Linked DNA regions of Homo sapiens: region 1 is linked to region 2. The links are contacts of gene promoters, found by promoter capture Hi-C in blood cells and fetal thymus (Javierre and others, 2016). All regions are on one chromosome and are shown on one strand. Each heading gives the region's core, a stretch centred on a gene start or on the middle of the fragment in contact. The rest is flanking DNA. Distances are from core to core; before and after follow the strand shown. Region 1 overlaps LOC105375148 (a long non-coding RNA gene). Region 2 holds the start of NXPH1 (neurexophilin 1).

Region 1 (6,482 bases), core at 2,073-4,572, 1.2 Mb after region 2:
ATAGAATGAAAGTAGAACTCTTTCTATGAGGCCATGTTACCATGACACTTGAACCAGGAAAAGACATAATGAGAAAAAAACCAAAACACTATGTACAGATTAATATCTTCTATGATTACAGATACAGAGATCATCTACAAAATACAAACTAAATCTAGCAATATAAGAAGGATAAGACACAATTACCTAGTGGGATTTATCTCAGGAATACAATGATGTTGTAACATACAAAAATCAGTCGGTTTAATATGCCACATTAGTAGAATAATGAACAAACACCAAACAATCATCTCAATAGATATTTAAAAGCCTTAGAAAAAATTCAATGCCCTTTTATTATAAAACAGTCAATGAACTAGACATTGAAAGAAATTTCCTCCATCTGACAAATATCTGTGGAAAACCCATTGGTCATATTATACATAATCATGAAAGACTGAAAGCTTTCCTTCGAAGATAAGAAATAAGACATGATTTCCCTGCTTGATAGTTCTATTCAACACTGTATGGGAGGTTCTAGCCAGGGCAATTAACCAGGTAAATATGTTTTTAGCATACACTAGGACTGAACAATAGAGAAGGGCAATCTCTTCAAGGCTTACATTCGTATCTCCATGGAAAATAGGTTATATAGCTCATTGAATAGCAGAGAAGTTCACTGGGTGCCAGGCCAGAGCTGATCCACAATAAGTGGACAGCTTATGTCCACTCTGGAGTAAATGTACACTGAAGCTGTCAGACAGGAGTGTAGAGGGTATTGAGGTGCACATGGAGAAGGCTGATGTGAGAATATGCAGAGAGCTCAGTATGTGTGAGCCCACTCATTGGCAGGCCAGCATGAGATATAAAATATGCAGTGACTGCACTCAGCTCTACAGGAGACAACTCAAGGGAGTGTAGGTAGCCAAGTATGGCGGTTGGGTGCCCAGAAGTCATCGGGAACCTAAAGGGAATGTGTGCAGAGGAAGTCAAGAGTCTGTGTGCAAACAGGGAGACATGAGGTTTGGAGCGCATGGTATATAGGTCAGGAAAGCCACGGCAAGGTCAGGCTGGGATGGAGAGTTTGCTTAAGGATTGGCCCCTTTGAGCTCATGCCTGGGGCAGTACACAACTGCATGTTCTTCACATGAACTGCTTCAGCCTCACAGGAGAAAGAGGAAAAGTTTTTTTTTTTAATTATATATATATATATTATACTTTAAGTTCTAGGGTACATGTGCACAACGTGCAGGTTAGTTACATATGTAAACATGTGCCATGTTGGTGTGCTACACCATTAACTCGTCATTTACGTTAGGTATCTCTCCTAATGCTATCCCTCTCCTCTCCCCCAACCCCACAACAGGCCCTGGTGTGTGATGTTCCCCTTCCTGTGTCCAAGTGTTCTGATTGTTCGATTCCCACCTATGAGTGAGAACATGTGGTGTTTGGTTGTTTGTCCTTGCAATAGTTTGCTGAGAATGATGGTTTCCAGTTTCATCCATGTCCCTACAAAGGACATGAACTCATCCTTTTTTATGGCTGCATGGTATTCCATGGTGTATATGTGCCACATTTTCTTTTTTTTTTTTTTTTTTTTTTTTTTGAGACGGAGTCTCGCTCTGTCGCCCAGGCCGGACTGCGGACTGCAGTGGCGCAATCTCGGCTCACTGCAAGCTCCGCTTCCCGGGTTCACGCCATTCTCCTGCCTCAGCCTCCCGAGTAGCTGGGACTACAGGCGCCCGCCACCGCGCCCGGCTAATTTTTTGTATTTTTAGTAGAGACGGGGTTTCACCTTGTTAGCCAGGATGGTCTCGATCTCCTGACCTCATGATCCACCCGCCTCGGCCTCCCAAAGTGCTGGGATTACAGGCGTGAGCCACTGCGCCCGGCCATGTGCCACATTTTCTTAATCCAGTCTATCATTGTTGGACATTTGGCTTGGTTCCAAGTCTTTACTATTGAGAACAGTGCTGCAATAAACATATGTGTGCATGTGTCTTTATAGCAGCATGATTTATAATCCTTTGGGTATATACCCAGTAATGGGATGGCTGGGTCAAATGGTATTTCTAGTTCTAGATCCCTGAGGAATTGCCACACCGACTTCCACAATGGTTGAACTAGTTTACAGTCCCACCAACAGTGTAAAAGTGTTCCTATTTCTCCACATCCTCTCCAGCACCTGTTGTTTCCTGACTTTTTAATGAGTGCCATTCTAACTGGTGTGAGATGGTATCTCATTGTGGTTTTGATTTGCATTTCTCTGATGGCCAGTGATGATGAGCATTTTTTCATGTGTCTGTTGGCTGCATAAATGTCTTCTTTTGAGAAGTGTCTGTTCATATCCTTCGCCCACTTGTTGATGGGGTTGTTTTTTTCTTGTAAATTTGTGTGAGTTCTTTGTAGATTCTGGATATTAGCCCTTTGTCAGATGAGTAGATTGCAAAAATTTTCTCCCATTCTGTAGGTTGCCTATTCACTCTGATGGTAGTTTCTTTTGCTGTGCAGAAGCTCTTTAGTTTAATTAGATCCCACTTGTCAATTTTGGCTTTTGTTGCCATTGCTTTCAGTGTTTTAGACATGAAGTCCTTGCATTCAAATTCAGGAAATACAGAGAACACCACAAAGATACTCCTCGAGAAGAACAACTCCAAGACACGTAATTGTCAGATTCACCAAAGTTGAAATGAAGGAAAAAATGTTAAGGGCAGCCAGAGAGAAAGGCCGGGTTACCCACAAAGGGAAGCCCATCAGACTAACAGCTGATCTCTCGGCAGAAACTCTACAAGCCAGAAGAGAGTGGGGGCCAATATTCAACATTCTTAAAGAAAAGAATTTTCAACCCAGAATTTCATATCCAGCCAAACTAAGCTTCATAAGTGAAGGAGAAATAAAATCCTTTACAGACAAACAAATGCTGAGAGATTTTGTCACTACCAGGCCTGCCTACAGGAGCTCCTAAAGGAAGCACTAAACATGGAAAGGAACAACCAGTACCAGCCACTGCAAAAACATGCCAAATTTTAAAGACCATCAATGCTAGGAAAAAACTGCGTCAACTAACGAGCAGAATAACCAGCTAACATCATGATGACAAGATCAAATTCACACATAACAATATTAACCTTAAATGTAAATGGGCTAAATGCTCCAATTAAAAGACACAGACTGGAAAATTGGAAAACTTGTTTTAAAAGAGCAAGTACACCAGATCAAACTATTCTTCCTAAATCCCTCTCATGCCCTCTACTGACCAAGCTTAATATGGAGCTTACTGCAAAACTGAAATGCATCAATCCAACTCATTATCGCAGGTACTGAGGGGCAAATTTGAAACGGAGAGGTAATTAGCTGATATCTGGCATAATCTGGAAGAGGAAGAACAATGCAGGAAGACTTGCTCTATAAAATATAAGGAATCATAAAGCTTTAATAATTAAGTATAGTATTGCTGTGGGGATAGGCAAAGTAAACAACAGAATGGAATAGAAAGGGTGAAACAGACAAACATAAAACTATGACCAAAAAAGTGGCTCTTAAATATAGAAAAATAAAACTTTTACTAAATATATAAAAAATGTTTTAAAAAATGTTGCCTTATCTGATATTATAGGTAGATCACAGTTCTGAATGTGAAGGAGAAAGAGTAATGCTAATATGTAATAACATCATTTCCATAGGATAAAAAGATTTGTATTGAGGAAAAGTATACTTCTCATGAAAAAAAGATTATCGAATTGGACTTCTCTAAAATTAATACAATCTAGGCATCAAAATATATCACAAAGAATGTGAAAAGACAACTCAGAATAAGGGAAGATATTTGAAATACATGCCTATATCCATAAGGTATGAAAAACACCTACCTATCAATGTTTAAAAAAAGGAAAAAGAAAATTTCACAACAGACTTGACTAGGTACTAGAAAATATTGGACAACAAAATGGCAAACACAAAGATACTCAACCTTGTTATAATCAAGGAAATGAAGATTGAAACCACATGAGATAGCACTACAGCTATACCAAAATAGCTAACAGACAAATGTCTGTGAAGACATGGAACAATGAGAATATGAATTGTTCTAATCATTTTAGACAAATGTTTGACTTTCAGGTTAAGTATATGTAGCCCTTAAGACCTAGCAGTTCTACGCTATTTATTAATATATACATCACAGAAATATGTGCACAAGTACTTGAAGAAACACATACAGAAATGTTTCCAGCAGCATTATCTACAATAGAAGCTAAAATCAACCTATGTTTATCAACATTACAAACAATAAATAAATGTTAATTTAATGGAATATGATAGAGCAGTAAAACCAACTAAAAATAGAGCTACATAAATATATTGATAGAAAGAAGCCAGATGGATAAGAATACATACTTCAATATTCTATTTATGAAAGTCCAAAACAGGTAAAAGATACACAGTGTTTTAAAAGACAGTTTAACTTTGGAGAAGACAAGGATAATAATTGGAAGAAGGACATAAAAGGAGACTCCAGTGTGCTGGAAATGTTCTGTTTTAAGAACAGGGTAATAGTTACACAAGTGAGTTTGTTTTGTACAAATTTATTGGGTAAATATATATTTTATTCTTGACAGTAGATCAACTACAACCTGAGTTTTAGATAATTTTTAATACTTTTCACTCATTTTTAATGTCCTATGGTAGACAGGATGAATGAGATAGAGATCCAACAACTTAAGAAATACAATTTCCACGATATTGATTCTTCCTATCCCTGAGCATGGAATGTTCTTCCATTTGTTTGTGTCCTCTTTTATTTCGTTGAGCAGTGGTTTGTAGTTCTACCTGAAGAGGTCCTTCACATCCCTTCTAAGTTGGATTCCTAGGTATTTTATTCTCTTTTAAAATGACCATACTGCCCAAGGTAATTTATAGATTGAATGCCATCCCCAGCAAGCTACCAATGACTTTCTTCACAGAATTGGAAAAAAAAGTACTTTAAAGTTCATATGGAACCAAAAAGGAGCCAGCATTGCCAAGACAATCCTAAGCCAAAAGAACAAAGCTGGAGGCATTGTGCTACCTGACTTCAAACTATACTACAAGGCTACAGTAACCAAAACAGCATGGTACTGGTACCAAAACAGAGATATAGACTATTGGAACAGAACAGAGCCCTCAGAAATAATACCACACATCTACAACCATCTGATCTTTGACAAACCTGACAAAAACAAGAAATGGGGAAAGTATTCCCTATTTAATAAATGGTGCTGGGAAAACTGGCTAGCCATATGTAGAAAGCTGAAACTGGATCCCTTCCTTACTTGTACAAAAATTAGTTCAAGATGGATTAAAGACTCACATGTTAGAACTAAAACCATAAAAACCCTAGAAGAAAACCTAGGCATTACCATTCAGGACATAGGCATGGGCAAGGACTTCATGTCTAAAACACCAAAAGCAATGGCAACAAAAGCCAGAATTGACAAATGGGATCTAATTAAACTAAAGAGCTTCTGCACAGCAAAAGAAACTACCATCAGAGTGAACAGGCAACCTACAGAATGGGAGAAAATATTTACAATGTACCCATCTGACAAAGGGCTAATATCCAGAATCTACAAAGAACTTAAACAAATTTACAAGAAAAAATCAAACAACCCCATCAAAAAGTGGGCAAAGGTTATGAACAGACACTTCTCAAAAGAAGACATTTATGCAGCCAAAAGACACATGAAAAAATGCTCATCATCACTGGCCATCAGAGAAATGCAAATCAAAGCCACAATGGGATACCATCTCACACCAATTAGAATGGCGATCATTAAAAAGTCCGGAAACAACAGGTGCTGGAAAGGATGTGGAGAAACAGGAACACTTTTACACTGTTGATGGGACTGTAAACTAGTTCAACCATTGTGGAATACAGTGTGGCGATTCCTCAAGGATCTAGAACTAGAAATACCATTTGACCCAGCCATCCAGTACTGGGTATATACCCAAAGGATTATAAATCATGCTGCTCTAAAGCCAAATGCACATGTATGTTTACCTGACTGTATTATAGTTGTTCTGAGTATAAATTATAATGTGATAAAGAGGAAAAAACAAATAGGCAAAACTCAAAATATGAAAATTAATTTTCTGTGGGATGCTTGAGAAAACCATTTGAAACCTATTTCTTGAACTAAAAGTTTAATACAGCACATATTCAGAATATGAATAAAAAATAAATTTAATGTACAAAATATCAAAGTGTTTAATTTCTAAATAAAAATCATATTATTAAATAGCATATATTATAGAAAGTACCTGAATAGCTTTACATTAACTGGAACTGAATAACAATAAAAACATGGTAAGAGAAAAATGACTGTGTCTTGTGCCCAAATTCTGGGATACACAGACTATCTAAAGACATAGAATTTTTCTCATAGAGCATCTGAAATATTCATAGATCCTCCACTGGAATAAATTTATTGCTGCTATAAGGTATATAAAATGTTGATAAACTGCTT
Region 2 (6,312 bases), core at 3,221-5,720:
GTAGCCTTTGTCCTTAACAATTTCTTCCATCCCTGCGTGGTTGAGAGTCCCAGTGTTCTTTCTGGCTGAAAGCAGATACTGTATTTTGCTTTGTTAACAGAACATTGGTTATCAAGTTCTCTGTCTCTAATGATTCTGTTTTAGGGAACTGTCAATTAATAATCTCTGGAGGAATCATCATAAAGAATTTCTGTAATGAGATTATAATGCAAAGGTTTGTTTAGTCACAATATTTTTTAAAATTTTAATTATGATTTTCGGGCGATGACCCCAATCTTTCCATCTTTTACATTCAACTGCCTTTTAAATGCTGGCTTCCTTCAATTTCTCTTATTATGTTCATCCTCTTTTTAAAGTTTTTGAGCATAACTAAAACTACCCTACCTTTGAGAACCCTCTGTCTTCACCTAGTAGAATAAATGAAATGTGGATACAAAGGCTGAGCATATAAATTACCTTTAAAAAAGAAAATGCCTTCTACATAAAGCTTTTTGATTCCCTTTAGTTTTTTTTTATTCTAGAGCTTGACGGCTATTTTTCCTCTCTAGTCCAGTGACCTTGTTATTAAAGCATTATTGTAAAGGTAATTTAGCACACATGCCTCATAGTTATTAACCGAGTTCTACCACATTCAAATACCAAATATTCCAGGCTGGTAAAAATCACTATGCAAATAATCCTTCCTTCCACTAGCAAAATATGTTGGGGGAGTGGAGAGGCCAGGGGCTTTTTTAGTAGTCCTGAGTGACATTTAAGAATTCTGCTAAAGGCCAGGCGCGTTGGCTCATGCCTGTAATCCCAGCACACTGGGAGGCCAAGAGGGGCAGATCACGAGATCAGGAGACTGAGACCATCCTGGCTAATATGGTGAAACCCCGTCTCTATTAAAAATACAAAAAATTAGCCAGGCGTGGCGGCGGGCTCCTGTAGTCCCAGTTACTCGGGAGGCTGAGGCAGGAGAACGGCATGAACCTGGAAGGCGGAGCTTGCAGTGAGCCCAGATCGCGCCACTGCACTCCAGCCTGGGCGACAGAGCGAGACTCCGTCTCAAAAAAAAAAAAAAAAAAAAAAAAAAGAATTCTGCAAAAGTAGTGGAAATAGCTTTGGATCTTTTCTAACCGATATTCATAAGTATAATAAGGATGCCACTTTGAGTGTAGATTCTCATAAATCAGTGACATTAAAAACATGTACAGAACAATTTACATGAAAAAGTAATATGATGAATTCAATACAGTCAACCTCTGACCTAGAAGAAAGGTTATGAGGGTGGAGCAGGGAAGAAATGCAGAAAAAATCTTTGGCTCAAACCTATAAACACACTTGACTAAAAAATCTTTGAAATGCACCAAAAAAGAATGTTTTTTCAAACTGTTAATATCTTTGAAAATCATAATGCAGTACACAATTGTTTTTTGGGAAGCAGGTAAATTTTTTAAACCTGCATTTAATCATAAAAGGTAAAATAAAGGAACTTTAGAATTAGAAATCATTTAAAACATCATGTAACCTTACTTCTGCATTATACAGAGGAGGGTACCGAGGCCAGGTGAATATTTAGGCACTTGTCCAGGACTACACAACATGCAAATGCCAGGTTATACTGAATTAAGGGCAGGAGGGTGATACAGTCTTTGTAAGTTTTCTATCACTATTAGGAAAAAAAATAGGTACAATGCAGTACTATGTACAAAGTGATGTAATTTGGCCTGAAGCTTAAGCAAGACCACAGCTGGATGCTTTGTAACAATAGTTCTCTGTTTTTACTTGGATTTTGGGTAGAATATGATGATATTAAGGTGTTTAAGACAGGTTCATTTTAGGACAAAATTTTGTAGAACTCAGCCTCTCTCTTTATGTCTCTCTTCTCTCCAGCCCCAAGATAATTCAAACCTCTCCCTTCCCTCTCCCCTGCCAAAAAAGAGAATCATACAAATGAACCAAACCAAAATAGATAATTACATTTAACAGAACTATCAGTATATGTCAGAAGATTCTAGTTTAATTTCTTCTGGTTTTAACTTTCAGGAAAGTTAATTTCACTATTTTCTTTTGATGCAGCCCATTTTAACCCTTTAAAAATATATTTCTTAGAGACAAAGATCTATATTATTTCTCGTACTGTTCATTTCAGGTTGGACCAGGTAGACATGGGGAAAAGCAGATGCAGAGGGTTGTGTTTTACAGTGGTTATCATTCATACTAAGTTTATATCTGTATTAAGTTGCATTGCACACAAAGTTTGGAAACAGTATTTCTGAAAGAATTTTCAGCATGAGTAAAGTCAGTAAAAATTGGTACAAACACTATACTTCTTAAGGTAATCACACTTTTGTTCTCACTCAATGAAGCTGACTGTTCATGTATTCTAAGAGTGCATTTTAGAGTAGGATACTACTTGAAACAGAAGAATGTAAGAAAATCATGCTTTTATTGCTCCATTGTTCTTTATAAAGCAAATGATAGGAAAAAAGGAGGGTGAATGAACCATTCTTGTCCACTTCTCCCCCAATATTATATTATTAAAACTGGAGTGGTTTAGCAGAAACGATACATTTTTCTGTGTTACTTGGTGGCTCGGTATCCTTTTCTGGTTGAGTATTATAGGAGATGAAGACCCCTGTGAAATATGAAAAATGACAATCCGCCACTGTTTTATATCACAGGCCAAGTATCTCATAGGATCCAGCGAAGGTTGAATGTCTGGGCAGAAGATCTCAGGTCATTAACAGAAAAAGCTCTTTGGCATCCTGTGTCATAGAACAAAGTGTCAAACCTGTTCCCATTACTAGGTGCCTGTGGTGCTTTTCTTAAATAATCAGTCCCATTCAGACAGACATTTTAAGGTCTCTGATCATCTTTCTATTTCACAAGCAGTATTTTTTTAAGGCTAAATGGCACTAGAAGCAGAATGTTTTTAAAGTAAGGTTTAGAAAAGAACTTGGTATATTCCAAAGCTAGCCGGATTCTTTCTCATTTTCCCAAAGGTCAGACAGAAGTTCAGCTCTGACAGCATTGTAGCTGGGAATCCAGATAGAGGCAGGCAACATTTGCTCCAGCTCTACACTCCAGTCTGGGAGGCCTGGGAGCTCCTGTACAAATAGGAATCAATTTTAGGATAGCCTTATGAATCCTAGAGGATGGAATTAGACAAAGCTTTTTTTGCCCCTGCTTTGACCATTTGGCCTCAGATACGGGTGCCCCAATACTTTAATTTTTCTTCTTTAAAGTTTAAAGTTTTTAAGAAAATGAAATAGCTGGTAAGTGAAAATAGTCAAGAAAACATTGTAATTATGCTATATGTACATGTGCGTTTTTTCTGAAGTGGATTTTCAGAGACACAGTTAGAAGGTGTGCTTCACTGCTTTATTCTGCATATGCCCCAATGAATTCCAGGAGGTCACAGCAGCAGAGTACAACTTTTAAGATTAGAAGAGCTTGCTCTTTAAAGAGTTATTTTTAGCTGGAAGGGAGAGTGTAGACCTCAAAGTGCTGGTAGGTATGTTCTACAGTGGGGATCTAATTTGGAGGTCTTTGGAGATCTGATTCCAGGGGAAGGTCTCAGTGGGGCTCCTCTTGCCTCTGCTGCAGGACTGGGTGGCTCTGCTGATTGTCACTGCCTTGTTTGAGGGGTGGTCTCCATCATCCAGGGGAATTCAGCCTGGGACCTATTGTCTAGAGTGTACATTGTATCTAGGCCCAGACCTGCCAGAGTGTCCACAGCCACACTTGAGGAAAGGACATTCCAGACTCATTAAATATCACAATTCGATTTTGATGTCACTAACTCAGGTTCCTGAGATAAATTTCCATACAATTCCTACAGATTGATATGGATATGTGCATCACCCCAGGAGAGGCTCTGGTGAAGGGCAGGCTTGGAGATGCAATGGGCAAGGTTGGGGAAGAGATACCCTCTTCCGGGTTCCGATTTGTGCCCTGAATTTGGGCAAGCTCAAGGAGCACTGGCAACCCCACCAGCACCAGAAGAAGCTGGTCCTGGCTGTCTCCCGAGACTGGTGAAACTGCTCTGGTGGTGGTGCACTGGAAGGGTGGAGGAAAAAAAACAAAAAACAAAACAGGGTTTGAGGGGGAATGGCAGGGACACGGTAGAGGCACAGAGATACAGAGACCTAGAGTCAGAAATCCTGAGTGAGACACACAGAAAGGCAGAAAAAGGCAGAAAGATGCTGAGGGACAGAGACGCAGACCACAAGAATGACAGAAGAAGGAGACAGAGAGAGAGAGGGAGTGAGAAAGATACTGAGAAATAGGGACAGTAAGGGAGAGACTGAGAAAGACAGAGACAGCCAGAGTCGGAGCACAGAGGCCGAGTCTGGGAGACGCTGGTTGAGTGGGAGGTGTCAGTAGCGAGGGAGGTGGTGACGGCTCGAAGCATCCCCCGTCCTCCTCCTCCCCCTTCACGCTCAGCCCAGCCGGCGGCGAGGAGTCCAGAGGCCAAGGTCGCCCAGTCCTCTCGGCTGTCTCGAGCTGAATGGCTGGCAGTCTGCGGCTCCCCCGCCTCCGGCCCGGCAGCCACAGGTCGGAGGCGCCCGGCGTCGGCGCTCGAGGCCGGCAGGGGCGCCCTGCACCCTCCCGCGCCCTTCCCCGCCCTACGCGACTCCCGGCTGCTCTTCCCGCCACTCCCCTGGGCTTTGCGATCTTCCCTACGCCCCCCGGGAAGGGGGCGCTGCGGCCACCGAAGACACCGCGGGAGCCACTTGTCCCTGTGGGCCCAGCCCGCGAGAGCCTGAGAGCCGGATCTGTTTACACAGGGTACTAATTAGTCTTTGAGGAATCATTCACCCACGTGCCAAAGTAATTGTCCGTGTCAGGAAGGTAGGCGTGCCAAGCCGCGGCTCTGCGGAGAAACCACGACCACCGCGGCCGCCGGAAACCCAAAGCGCTCCAGAGCGTCCCCGGGTGGCCGGGCAGCACCAGGGACAGCGCCCGGGACTCCACTGGGGACCGGCTCCTGGGCTTCCCAGCGTCGCGGGTAGAGGTACAGCTGCTCCGTGTGCCGCAGGCTCCAGATTCTCGCCACCCCACCCCTCCCTCAGAAACTCGGACTGCTCTCGTCTGCCGTGTGGTTCTCTTTTCTTCCGAAAGGCCAGTGTCTTATCTCTCCACTTCAAGTCCAGAGGACTTGCTCAGTCTCCTCCCCTTAAGTCATTTCCACCATCCTCAGGCAGCTGTGGGAAGCCGAGAGTCCTGGACTGTTCGTCCGGGTGCCAGCGCTGGCAGTCCCAGTCCGTCCGGTGCAGCAGCCCGGCGCATTCCCCTCTCTCCCTCCCTCTTGCTCTCCCTCCCTTTCTGTCTTCCTCTCTTTCCTCCTCTACTGCTCCCTCCCTCTCTTGCCTCTTAAGTTTCCTGCACCGTGAATCCAACTGTGCCAAGCCTTGGCTCCCGCGAACCAATCCTGAGCGCGACCCGGGCACTGGGACGGCGACTCCGCCAAAGCTGGACGAGGCAGCCGGACCCGTCTGCGCTCGAGCATGGAGACGGAGCGCCTGGGAGGGCACGTCCGGGGCGCTGGAGACGCCAGGCCCGAGTAGCTTCTCCATGGAGCCTGCCCAGAGCGGTCCCTTCTCGCAGGATTCGCCCCAAGTCCTGTGCGGTACGTACCCTTTGCCTCCGCTGTTCCCGGAGGGTACACCTGGGAGCGGGGTGGTGGGCACGAGGAAGGGACGGCAGGGAGGGGCGCTGGTTAGGAAAGAGAACAAGCCTGGCAGGTGACCCTCACAGCTCGGAGGAGGCTTCTTCTCTAGAAGTTAGCGACCGGCTGTACCCTTTGGCTCGAAAAAAGTAGTGCTAGAGATGTGACTGTGAGCATTCGTGGGTATCTCTGTGTGCGCCAGGGGTTCGAATGGGTAAACTGATCCCTGCTTTCCTGTATGCAAATTGCATTCTCTTTCCCCACCCCCACTTCACCGAACGTGTTGAGGTACCTAGCACCTAATCGCGGTCAGTTCTACCTACCTCTTCCTCTCACCGCGCCCCCCTCGCTCAATCTCTCTCTCTCCCTTTATCTTTCCCCTCTATCTCTCTCTGCTGGTGTGTACGTGTGTGAGCACTGCCAGGGCTGGCGAAGAACCAGCCGCCGCCTTTAGTCCGAGCCGCCGGGCCACCCAACACAAGGGCAGGTCTCGCTGCCGGAGAAGCCTGGGCTCCGAACCAGCCTGCACGCGGCTCAGTGTGCTCCGCCGCCTGGGAACTCGCACCCGAGGAGCGCAGGGGGCAAGGAGCCCCTCACCCTCCCTCTCGTCCGCCCGCCCGCCTCCCCAGCTGCGGACCGCGCGCTTGCTGGTCTCA

The links. Contacts are between HindIII fragments. The CHiCAGO score rates a contact against its expected background, and 5 or more counts as called.
Region 1: a contact is called between a fragment that was not itself captured here and the fragment with the promoter of NXPH1 in region 2, in 1 of 17 cell types (endothelial precursors). The highest score is 5.7, in endothelial precursors.

The regions. Positions count from the first base shown.
Region 1 is chr7:9,654,227-9,660,708 of GRCh38, forward strand. The region is part of intron 1 of LOC105375148 (a long non-coding RNA gene); the gene reads left to right. All of the region lies in intron 3 of LOC105375145 (a long non-coding RNA gene), which reads right to left. Among named protein-coding and RNA genes, the nearest start is that of MGC4859, 1.1 Mb to the right of the region's middle. The HindIII fragment of the contact is 169 bases long and covers 3,239-3,407 here.
Region 2 is chr7:8,429,139-8,435,450 of GRCh38, forward strand. It overlaps NXPH1 (neurexophilin 1), which reads left to right and starts at 4,471. Exons shown (of 3, transcript NM_152745.3): 1 at 4,471-5,617. RefSeq lists enhancers at 5,035-5,582, 5,583-6,130, 6,131-6,312. The HindIII fragment of the contact is 6,580 bases long and covers 3,155-6,312 here.